Regions from separate parts of the Homo sapiens genome. Here regions 1 and 3 are each linked to region 2. Evidence: promoter capture Hi-C in human tissues and cell types (Jung and others, 2019). All regions are on one chromosome and are shown on one strand. Each heading gives the region's core, a stretch centred on a gene start or on the middle of the fragment in contact. The rest is flanking DNA. Distances are from core to core; before and after follow the strand shown. Region 1 has its middle 8.1 kb from the start of MIR4462. Region 2 holds the start of FGD2 (FYVE, RhoGEF and PH domain containing 2). Region 3 overlaps PXT1 (peroxisomal testis enriched protein 1).

Region 1 (3,084 bases), core at 131-2,630, 560 kb after region 2:
CTAAGTGATGTGAGCACCTTATTTAATCCCTGTGCCTCTGTCTCCTCTGTGATGATACTAGTGTAAATTTCACAGCATACTTCTGAGAATTAAATGAACGGATTCACATTAGTGCTCAGAACAGTGCCTAGTATATAGTGAGCAGCTGACATCGGCTATTATGATTTCCTAAACCAATGTGAATTGGGTTTTTGTTACTGGCAACTGAAATGGTCCTGGTTATTAATAATTCTCTCTTCCCAGGCTGATCAGCCAAGAAGCACCTGGTTTCACTACTTCTTTTTCTTCTGGTTCAGAAACAGAAGCAGAAATCCCCTTTAGATTTTCACCGAGTCTTTTGTCCTTCAATGGTAACTTTTACAGAGGGCGGTAAAACAACGCAATGGGAATTCCACTCAAGCAGAAACAACTGCAGAAAGCCTGGGTTGGGGCTTTCTGGGACTTCTATTAGGTGAGAATGTCCCAGGCCAGCTCTCCCCTACCCCTCCCAACCTGGGGTGGTTCTAGGAGGGTGCTGGGGGTCAGGCAGGCCTGGGTGGGAATCCTGGCACTTCTGACTGGCTGTGGGACCCCATGTAAACATACAATCTTATAGAGCCTCAGTTTTCTAATCTATAAAATGGGACTAATAATAATAATAGCTGCTCCATGAGATTTTTCATGACATTGAAGTTAATCTGTATAAAGCTTTCGTCACTGGCACATACTGAAGTTCTCCATAGATGCTGTGGTTGCTAAATCATCCTGGTAAGAGACTCCTCTAGTACGTGCTTTAGAAAGCAGCTCTTCTGGATAGGCGTGGTGGCTCACGCCTGTAATCCCAGCACTTTGGGAGTCCGAAGTAGGCAGATCACTTGAGCTCAGGAGTTCGAGACTAGCCTGGCCAACATGGTGAAACCCTGTCTCTACTAAAAATACAAAAAGTTTAGCCAGGTGTGGTGGCGTGTGCCTGTAGTCCCAGCTACTCTAGAGGCTGAGGCAGGAGAATCACTTGAACCCAGGAGGTGGAGGTTGCAGTGAGCTGAGATCCTGCCACTGCACTCCAGCCTGGGCGATAGAGCGAGACTCCTTCTCAAAAAAAAAAAAAGGGAGAAGAGCAGCTTTTCTAATTGCTACCTGGGCTGAATGTGAGCTTCAGTTCCTCAAACTGGCTAAGGGAGATTTGGGACGGCCCCAGTGGTGGGATCCCAGTCCATTCCAGAAACTGCTTCTGAATCTTCTCTCTGACTATGGGGGTCTTTTCTCACACCTCCATACCCTCCAGCCACCACTCAGGCCTGGGCTGGGCTGTGTGTCTCTGTTTTGGACCGTTGCCCTGGTCCTTGGCAGAGAGACACTCCCCTTTCTGGGCCTGAAAGACCCACCCCCTGGCTTTAGGCTGTTCTGCAGCCTTTTCGGGAGGAAGCAGAGGATGGGCCTCTGTCCTCCCAATCAAGTCCCTTCTGTCCCTCCTCCCAGAGAGCCCTCCACTGCCCCCACACCCCCACCCGCCTCCTCCTCAGCCGGCCTCCAACTCTCACCTCCCTTTCCTCCAGTGTGTCTGCATTCCTTTTCCTGTGTCAAAATCTACTCAAATACTTCCTATCCTAAAAAAGTTCTCCCTCGCCAGGCACAGTGGCTTGCACCTATAATCTCAGCTACTTGGGAGGCTGAGGCAGGAGGCTCGCTTGGGCCCAGGCGTTTGAGGCTACAGTGAGCTATGATTATGATTGTGCCACTGCACTCCAGCCTGGGCAACATAGTGAGATCCTGTCTCTAACAAAACAAACAAAACAAAAAACACTCTCCCTGGGTCCCAGGCATCCAAGTCTTCATATCCTCTCCTGTCTGTCCTATTCTGAGTTCTCAACAGCAAAGCTTCTGTGACCTCCAAGCCCTGAATATGCTCTTGATAAGCTGCCAATGACTAGGCAGGCTTCTCTGTCTTGGAATCCTCCTCCACCAGCACTGTGCTCCCAGGCCGACCTCTGTGACCAGCATGGCCCAGGCTCCCTGTGCCAGGGAGGGCCAACAAAGGGAGAGCCTCACAGAAGATCAGAGAGAGGAGAGTGAAGCCAAGATCTTTATTTTCCTGATGTGCTCCCTGCGGGACTTCAGGGGGCTGGCTCTTTGCTGTGTCTCTCCACACAAGGTTACAGCTCCCGTCCAGCAGGCCCTCCCCATGGCTCTGTCCATGTCCCTTTGGGCCCAGCTCCCCTGTTCCAAGCCCTGGGGCTTCAGCATCTCCTGCTGATGTCCCTGCACCCTGCCCACACCTTTGCACCTGGCCTAAACCTTCATTAAACTCTCTTTGAATCACTCAGTTTAAATATACCTTGAGTTTACTGCCAGACTGGAATTGTTAATAGAGGGTCCAGCACCAAATCCGTGGGAAACACCTGTGTTTTTCTCATTGGTGCTTTCTGCTGTATCTGATCGGCCTCCCTCCTTCAAGAGCCCCTCTATCCTGACCCCACCGCGACACAGTGCTCCACCAGCTTCCTTCTCTCTCTGACAGTTCCTTCTTCGTCTTTCTCTGACCTAGGCCCTTGCTCTATTCTCTCTCCTGGGCAGTCGCCTCTATAGCCCTTGGGATTTCCGCCACTGTGTACATTGCTAGTCCAGCCTTCACCTGTGGAGCTCAGGACAGAATATTCAATTACCTCCTGGAAGTCGATATGGACACCCTCAGGTACCTCAAACGCAGCGTGTTCCAAACTGGGCTTCTTCCCCTAAGCCTGCTCCTCCTCCCATGTAACCTTTCAGAGGGTGGCACTGCAGTTCACCCACACCCAGGCCAGGTACCCAGAAGTCGGCCTTGACTGTGATTTTGCTCACTCTGTCTTCATCCTTTTGGGTGCTGATGCTTGGATGTCCAGAATATTTATTGACTCTCCCTTTCCCCCAACCCAATCCTTACTACTCTGACATGGTTGGTTCCCCATCATCCCACCCCGTGTTCCCCTCCCTGGACTGTGGCAGAAGCTTCCTAACTGACATCCCAGTCTCTGACACCCACTCCAATACATCTCCACATTACAAATCTGAACTGGTGACTCCCCTGCTCAAAACTCTTCAGTGGCTCCCTGTTGCAAGCTTGTTGGA
Region 2 (3,334 bases), core at 1-2,500:
GGGCCGGGAGACCAGGTGGTAAAGGAGGCCTCAGGCAAAGACAACCCAGTGTCCTGGGATCAGGGAGGCCTGGGGATGGAGCAGCAAGAACATGGTCATCCAGGCTCCCAACGAACCTTTGCTGGAACTGTAGGACACCCACTTTTGCTTTGGAAATCCAACTTCTCTTGTATTCTTCCTGGGTGACCTTGGGCAAGTTACTTAACCTCTCTGATTCTGTTTCTTCCTATGTAAAGTGGGGATAGGAATAGTACCTACCTCATGAGGTTGTTATAGGATTAATAAGAAAATACTCATAAGCATGAAAAAGAGTGCATGTTAGCTATTATTATCCTCTGAGTTTCAGGGAGGAAACTGCCCTCCCTTGGGGCAATGAGGTGATGACAGCAACAACTAAAATGAGAGAACCCCAGTGGGGAGGTGGGAACATCACAGTACTCCCTGCCACCCTTACCAGGTTTGTGATTATTTTAAATAAAACATGCTGTTTCCTGGCCAGGCACAGTGGCTCACATCTGTAATCCCAGAATTTTGGGAGGCCGAGGCAGGAGGATCACCTGAGGCCAGGAGTTCAAGACCAGCCTGAGCAACATGGTGAAACCCCATCTCTACTAAAAATACAAATAATTAGCAGGGCGTGGTGGCAGGCCCTGTAATCCCGGCTACTCAGGAGGCTGAGGCAGGAGAATCGCTTGAACCGGGAGGCAGAGGGTGCAGTGAGCCGAGATCCCACCACCGCACTCTGTCTCTAAAGAATAAAAAAGACATTATTTCCTTACAGCTGTGAGCAGGGGCAGATGCAGAAAAGAAGGTGCTGGGAAAGAGGCCAAGTAAAAGCCACTGGACCTTCTGAAGGAGAAAGTGTGGTTGGCTGGAACCACTAGGCCAAGAAACCAGCCAAGGGTCTGGCTCCGGGTGGCCTTTTTTTTTTTTTTTTTTTTTAAGAGACGGTGTCTCACTATGTTGCCCAGGTTGGTCTTGAACTCCTGGGCTCAAGCAATCCTCCTGCTTCGGCCTCCCAAAGCACTGGAATTAGAGGTGCAAACCACTGCACCAGCCCAGACTGGGCTCCAGAAGCTACCTCTGGGCCCTGTTGCCACCTCTTAGGTGGCTTCTGGAATGGGGGTCTACAGGTGTGAAAGGTCAGCCCCCCTGAGGGAGAGGTGGGGCCCGAGCAGGCTCCTCCCACTGCGGGAGTGCTGGCCTTTCCCCTGCAGGGCTGTGGCTCTGGGACCACTTCCTCTTTCTTCACTCTGAAGCCAAGAGCCGACCTTCTGAGCCCTCAAGAAAGATCAGAACAGATTCATGGGTGATTTAGCCTATCTGTCCCAGGCCAGCGTGGCTGAGTGTGCTGGCTGGAGGCCTCTCTCTCTGCTTCGAGGGTAGCTGAGATCCACCCCGGAAACCGGCAGGATGAAGGGGGCAAGTGAGGAGAAGCTGGCATCTGTGTCCAACCTGGTCACTGTGTTTGAGAATAGCAGGTATGGGCAGCTGGGGTGGGAGGGTCACCATGGTGGGCTGGCAGCCACCCTCCAGCCTTTCTGGCAGCTCTCTCCCTGGGCCCTGCCCCGGACCCTCCTCCTGCAGGGGCAGCCCCGCGTTCCTCGGTCACGGATTCCTTGGAGCATGGGAGAGTGTCGGTGGGACACCAGGAGCCAGGCAGGGGTGAGAGTGCCAGTGTGTGTTGGGAGAGTCCAGACAGGTGTGGTTACGAGCAAGCATGGGCAGACCAAAGCCTGTGTGTGGGCACAGGACCCCACCCAGTGCCTGCCAGCACCTCTCAGAAAAGGTAGCTGATACTCACCAAGAATTTACGCCCTATGATTAGGATAACCATATAATTTATCATTCAGCACACAATTGAAACTGAAAGTAAATGCCAAATAAAATGTGGTGGTTGTGGGGGAGGCATTACAGGTAAAGCTGGGACCGTATGAGGCAAACCAGGATGTACGGGCAGCATCCTGATGGGGTACTCCCTACTCTAAGTTCATGTCCTTACTTATTTAATTTAGTCATCGAACAGCCTAATAGGGGTAGATTCTGTTTCTGTTCCCGTCTTATAGATGAGGAAATGGAGACACAGAGAGGTGAGGATGCCAAGTGCTTTAAGTATCTGGGGCAATGCTGGGGCGTCTGTCTGGAGGGAAAAGGCTGGGCCAGATGCGTGGAGTCATTGGTAGCCCTGGGAGCATGTGTGTTTGTGTGTGTGCGCGTGTGTGTATGTGTGTGTTGTGTGTTATGTGTGGCATCAATCCATTCTGCAGGCATTTCTTAAGCTCAGGACTGTGTTAGGGGCTGTCCCAGGTAGGGTTTTCTGGAAATAGACTCAGACAGAGGTTTGCCTCAGGTGATTTATCAGGGAGAGCTTTTGGGAACAACAGCTGTGGGTGTGAGGGAAGCAGGGCCGGGCAGGGGGAGATGCTGAACTGCAGTGCACCTGCCACAGAGGCCTCAGCCTGTCCCAGGGAGCTCTGGAGCTGGGATGCCTCTCGGTTGTTCCAGCTGAGGAAGAGGGCTGGGTATTTGTATCTCCATGTGGACTGGACAAGAGACTCTGGGTGAGGCAGCTCTCTCTTCCAGAGAGTGATTCCCAGAGAGGGACTCAGCCAATAAATTACCCGGCAGCCCCCAGTACTACCAGTAGCTGGTGGGGATGGTGTGGGGAGGCCTCATTCCTGAAGGAGGGACATGGGTGGCACAGCACAGCATCCTACAGGAACTGTAGAGGATGAAGAAGGGTTTCAGTATTTGGATGCTGAGCTCATCGAATAACTATGATGCAAGGTCATAGACAGTAGATGTCCTAGGAATGGCCCGGATGCTGTATTGAGGGCACTCATGGCAGGCAATGTTTCCTGTAGGCTTCAGGGTGGAGATGGCATAGATGTAGACCTAGAAGTCTTCAACTTCCTGAGCTGGGTGATTCTCCCCTGCCTCTCCCGGGATCTTTGCCAAGCTCGTCCTGTTCAGCACCAAAGACAGCTCTTGGGTGCCGCCTTCCTGGCCCACCACCCCCTTGGGTGTGGGTGGATGGTACCACCTCACTCAACATGCTTGACGTGGACTAGGCACACCTGGGTGGAGCCCCTCAGCATGCTGTGCTCTGCCCAGGCAATAACCCTGGCAGGAGTGGGCAGCCCTTAGACGGGAGTTAGGTCCCAGCAGGCATCAAGAGGGTGAGAGCCACTCCTTACTGAGTGAGGGGACCCATACCAACTGCCTTGGCCTGGGCTTCCTTATGAGGTCTCCAGCACCTCAGCTGATCTGAAACTGAGGGGCAAAGAGGAAACAGAAGCTGGCCAGGGGCCCTAGAACAGAAATGCAGAACCTG
Region 3 (3,385 bases), core at 602-3,101, 610 kb before region 2:
TCAGAGGGTAAAAAGAAAACAGAACTTGACCACTTGACCTTTACTTTCCTTTTACAGCAAATGGTTGTTCCAGAAAAAATGCAGCAACACCTGAACTCTTCTAAAGAAAAAGAAGACAAAATGATCTAGTGCATCTCTGCCATCCTGTTGAAGATCCTATTTGAAAAAAGGGAGACACAGAGAAAGGTTTTTTTTTTTTTTTAAAAGTGATAGAATAATCCAAAGTTAAAAATTCAACACAATGGAAAATATTAATTCAATCCATGCTGCAAACAAGCTTCTTGGGTTGCTTTATGAATTGTATGAGCTGAAGGACAGTACCTTCCATATGGTCATATCCTCACAACGCCTCTGGACATATTTTCCTATCTGACCGTCTTTCCCACCTGGCCTCAAACTCCTGGGCTCAAGTGATTCTCCCACCTCGGCCTCCCCAGTAGCTAGGACCACAGATGCATGCCACCATGTCTGGCTAATTTTTAAAAATATTTTGTGCAGACAGGGTCTCACTATGTTGCCTTGGCTGGTCTCAACAAACTGGGGCTCATCAGTAAATTGGGGCACTCTTTTCAGGGCTGATAACCTATTCCCCTGGATTCCCAAAACACTTTCTTAGTTCTTTCAAAGAGGTGAGCAAGTTTGCCTTGAGGCTAGAAGAATGGAGAGAAGACTGGGCATGGTGGCTCCTGCCTGTAGTCCCAGCACTTTGGGAGGCCAAGGCAGGTGAATGGCTTGAGTTCAGGAATTTGAGACCAGCCTAGGCAACATGGTGAAACCTCATCTCTAGAAAAACTGAGCCAGGCATGGTGGCACACACCTGTAGTCCCAGCTACTCAGGAGGCTGAGGTGGGAGGATCACCTGAGCCTGGGAAGTTGAGGCTGCAGTGAGCTGTGATTGTGCCACAGCACTCCAGCCTGGGCAACAGAGGGAGATCCTGTCTCAATAATAATAATAATAATTAATAATGTCTAGGACTTAGATGGGCAAAGAGGTGAGGTGAATATTAAGTATTTTGGAGCAGAAAGTAACAACTGTTTATGTCGGAACATCAGAAAAAGAAGACCATGGGTCAGACACAAATGCTCCCCCGCCTGCCCCCTGCAGTCTGTTCTCAGCACAGCCCCCTCTGTGGACTGTTGAAATGCGGCTTCTCTGCTCAGTGCCCTCCGATGGCACCACCTCACTTAGAAAAAAAGTCCTTGCAGTGACCTCAAGGCCCTACCTAATCTGCCCACCACCCACCCTTCTGACCATATCTTTTTTTTTTTTGAGACAGAATTTCGCTCTTGTTGACCAGGCTGGAGTGCAATGACACGATCTCGGCTCACCACAACCTCCACCTCCCAGGTTCAAGTGATTCTCCTGCCTCAGCCTCCCGAGTAGCCGGGATTACAGGCATGCACCACCAAGCCCGGCTAATTTTTTTTGTATTTTTAGTAGAGACAGGGTTTCTCCATGTTGGTCAGCCTAGTCTCGAACTCCCGACCTCAAGTGATCCGGCCTCCCAAAGTGCCGGGATTACAGGCGTGAGCCACTACGCCTGGCCCTGACCATATCTTTTATGACCTTCTCCCTCACTCAGCTTCAGCCACACTGGCCTCCTTGCCATTCTTCAAACACACGAGATGCACTCCTGCCCCAAGCGCTTTGCTGTCCTCCTGCCTCCAATCCTCTGCCTCCTCCCCAATATCCACAGCTCAGTCCCACACTTCTTTCAAGGTTTTCCTCAGAAGTCACCTTCTTGGTGGCTCATGCCTGTAAGCACTTTGGGAGGCCAAGGCTGGTGGATCACTTGAGCCCAGGAGTTTGAGACCAGCCTGACCAACATGGTGAAACACCCCCTCTACTAAAAATACAAAAATAGCCAGGTGTGGTGGTGCATGCCTGTAATCCCAGCTACTCGGGAGGCTGAGGCATGATAATTGCTTGCACCTGGGAGCAGAGGTTGCGGTGACAACTTTGTGCCATGGCATTCTAGCCTGGATGACAGAGTGAGACTATGCCTCAAAAAAAAAAAAAAGTCACCTTCTCAATGAGGCCTTCCCTTAACATCTCTACTTAAAATTGCAAACCCCAACACTCCTTATCCCTTTCCTTGCTTTATTTTTCTCCAAAGCATGTATCTCTATCTGATAAACTACATACTTTATTTGTGTAGATACTGTTTGTCTCCCTTAAAAACTCCGTGAGATCAGTAATATTGTCTCTTTGATCACTCCCATATCTCCGGTACTTAAACAGAGCCTGACATACAGCAGGTGCTCAATATAAGTTGAAGAAATGAATTCAGGAAGGAATGAAAAACCATTAGCAGTAGGCTAAGGAACTTAGACTTTGTCCTGCTAGTAACCGAAAATCATTAAAGGATTTTTCTCCCCCTCTTATAGTCGATATCAGCTAGGAAAACGGAATGAGTTTCCTTTCAGCATGGCAGACAAGAAAAAGTATAGAACACTGAGTCAGATGCTCATATATTTAAATTCTAGTTTTGCCACTTAGAAGCTAAGTGACCTTTGATAAGTTTTGTAATCTCTCTGAAACTCCATTGCTTCTCCTGAAATACCTATGACAGTAATTCATAGGGTTATTGGGGGAATTAAATGAAACATGTAGAAGTGTCTCAAACAGTACCTGGAAAAAATGTTTTAATAAATGTTTGTTTCCCTCCCTTCTTTCTAACAAACTGAGAAATTCCCTATGCATTATGATATCAGTCAGATTCCCAGAGGAAACAGATGGCACACCCAAATTAGGCTAATTCGAGGTGAGTTAAATAAAGAGACTCTAAAAGGTGTGGAGAAACCACAGAGGATGGTGTAGTACCTAGACCCGGTGACAACTCTGTTGGGGCATAGAGACAGGGGCGTAGGGACAGGGAGGGAGGAGTTTCCAGAACCCAGAAGGAGAGAAAAATTTCAAAGGCATATTTAAAATTCTAAAAGTGATGAGAAGCCTAACTATTTTAAAACATGCTTTATATCTAGAAAAAGCATATGTCCCGGGTTTAAAAAAAAAACTGAATTAAAAAAAAAAGCAGATACTTGAACCAAAACCCCACACAACTCAATGGCAAAATAGAAGATTTTTTTTTTCTTTTTCAGATTCAGGGTCTCCCTCTGTCACCCATGTTGAAGTGCAGTGACACAATCATAGCTCACTACGGCCTCGAATTCCTGGGCTCAAGCAATCCTCCCACTTCAGCCTCCCAAGTAGCTGGACTACAGGCACACACCACCACACCTGGCTAATTTTTTTAAAAATTGTTTTGTAGAGACAGGGATCTCAAACAAAAAAAAGAGAGAGAGAGAGACAGGGGTCTCACTATGTTGCCCAGGCTGGTCTCAAACTCCTGGCCTCAGCCTCCCAACGTGCTGGGATTACAGG

What was found. Contacts are between HindIII fragments. The study calls those that stand out against the background at their distance.
Region 1: a fragment that was not itself captured here is called in contact with the fragment with the promoter of FGD2 in region 2 in 1 of the 25 tissues and cell types used here (aorta).
Region 3: a fragment that was not itself captured here is called in contact with the fragment with the promoter of FGD2 in region 2 in 1 of the 25 tissues and cell types used here (heart right ventricle).

What each region holds. Positions count from the first base shown.
Region 1 is chr6:37,561,960-37,565,043 of GRCh38, forward strand. No RefSeq gene overlaps it. Among named protein-coding and RNA genes, the nearest start is that of MIR4462, 8.1 kb to the left of the region's middle. RefSeq lists enhancers at 205-414, 555-734. The HindIII fragment of the contact is 3,278 bases long and covers 1-3,019 here.
Region 2 is chr6:37,004,405-37,007,738 of GRCh38, forward strand. It overlaps FGD2 (FYVE, RhoGEF and PH domain containing 2), which reads left to right and starts at 1,251. Exons shown (of 16, transcript NM_173558.4): 1 at 1,251-1,481. The coding sequence starts at 1,414. RefSeq lists a silencer at 849-1,011 and enhancers at 1,267-1,396, 3,217-3,334. The HindIII fragment of the contact is 13,068 bases long and covers 1-1,361 here.
Region 3 is chr6:36,391,719-36,395,103 of GRCh38, forward strand. It overlaps PXT1 (peroxisomal testis enriched protein 1), which reads right to left. Exons shown (of 5, transcript NM_152990.4): 5 at 1-156. The coding sequence ends at 52. ETV7-AS1 (ETV7 and PTX1 antisense RNA 1) reads left to right here. Exons shown (of 2, transcript XR_926758.3): 2 at 58-105. Among named protein-coding and RNA genes, the nearest start is that of ETV7, 5.7 kb to the left of the region's middle. The HindIII fragment of the contact is 4,481 bases long and covers 1-3,385 here.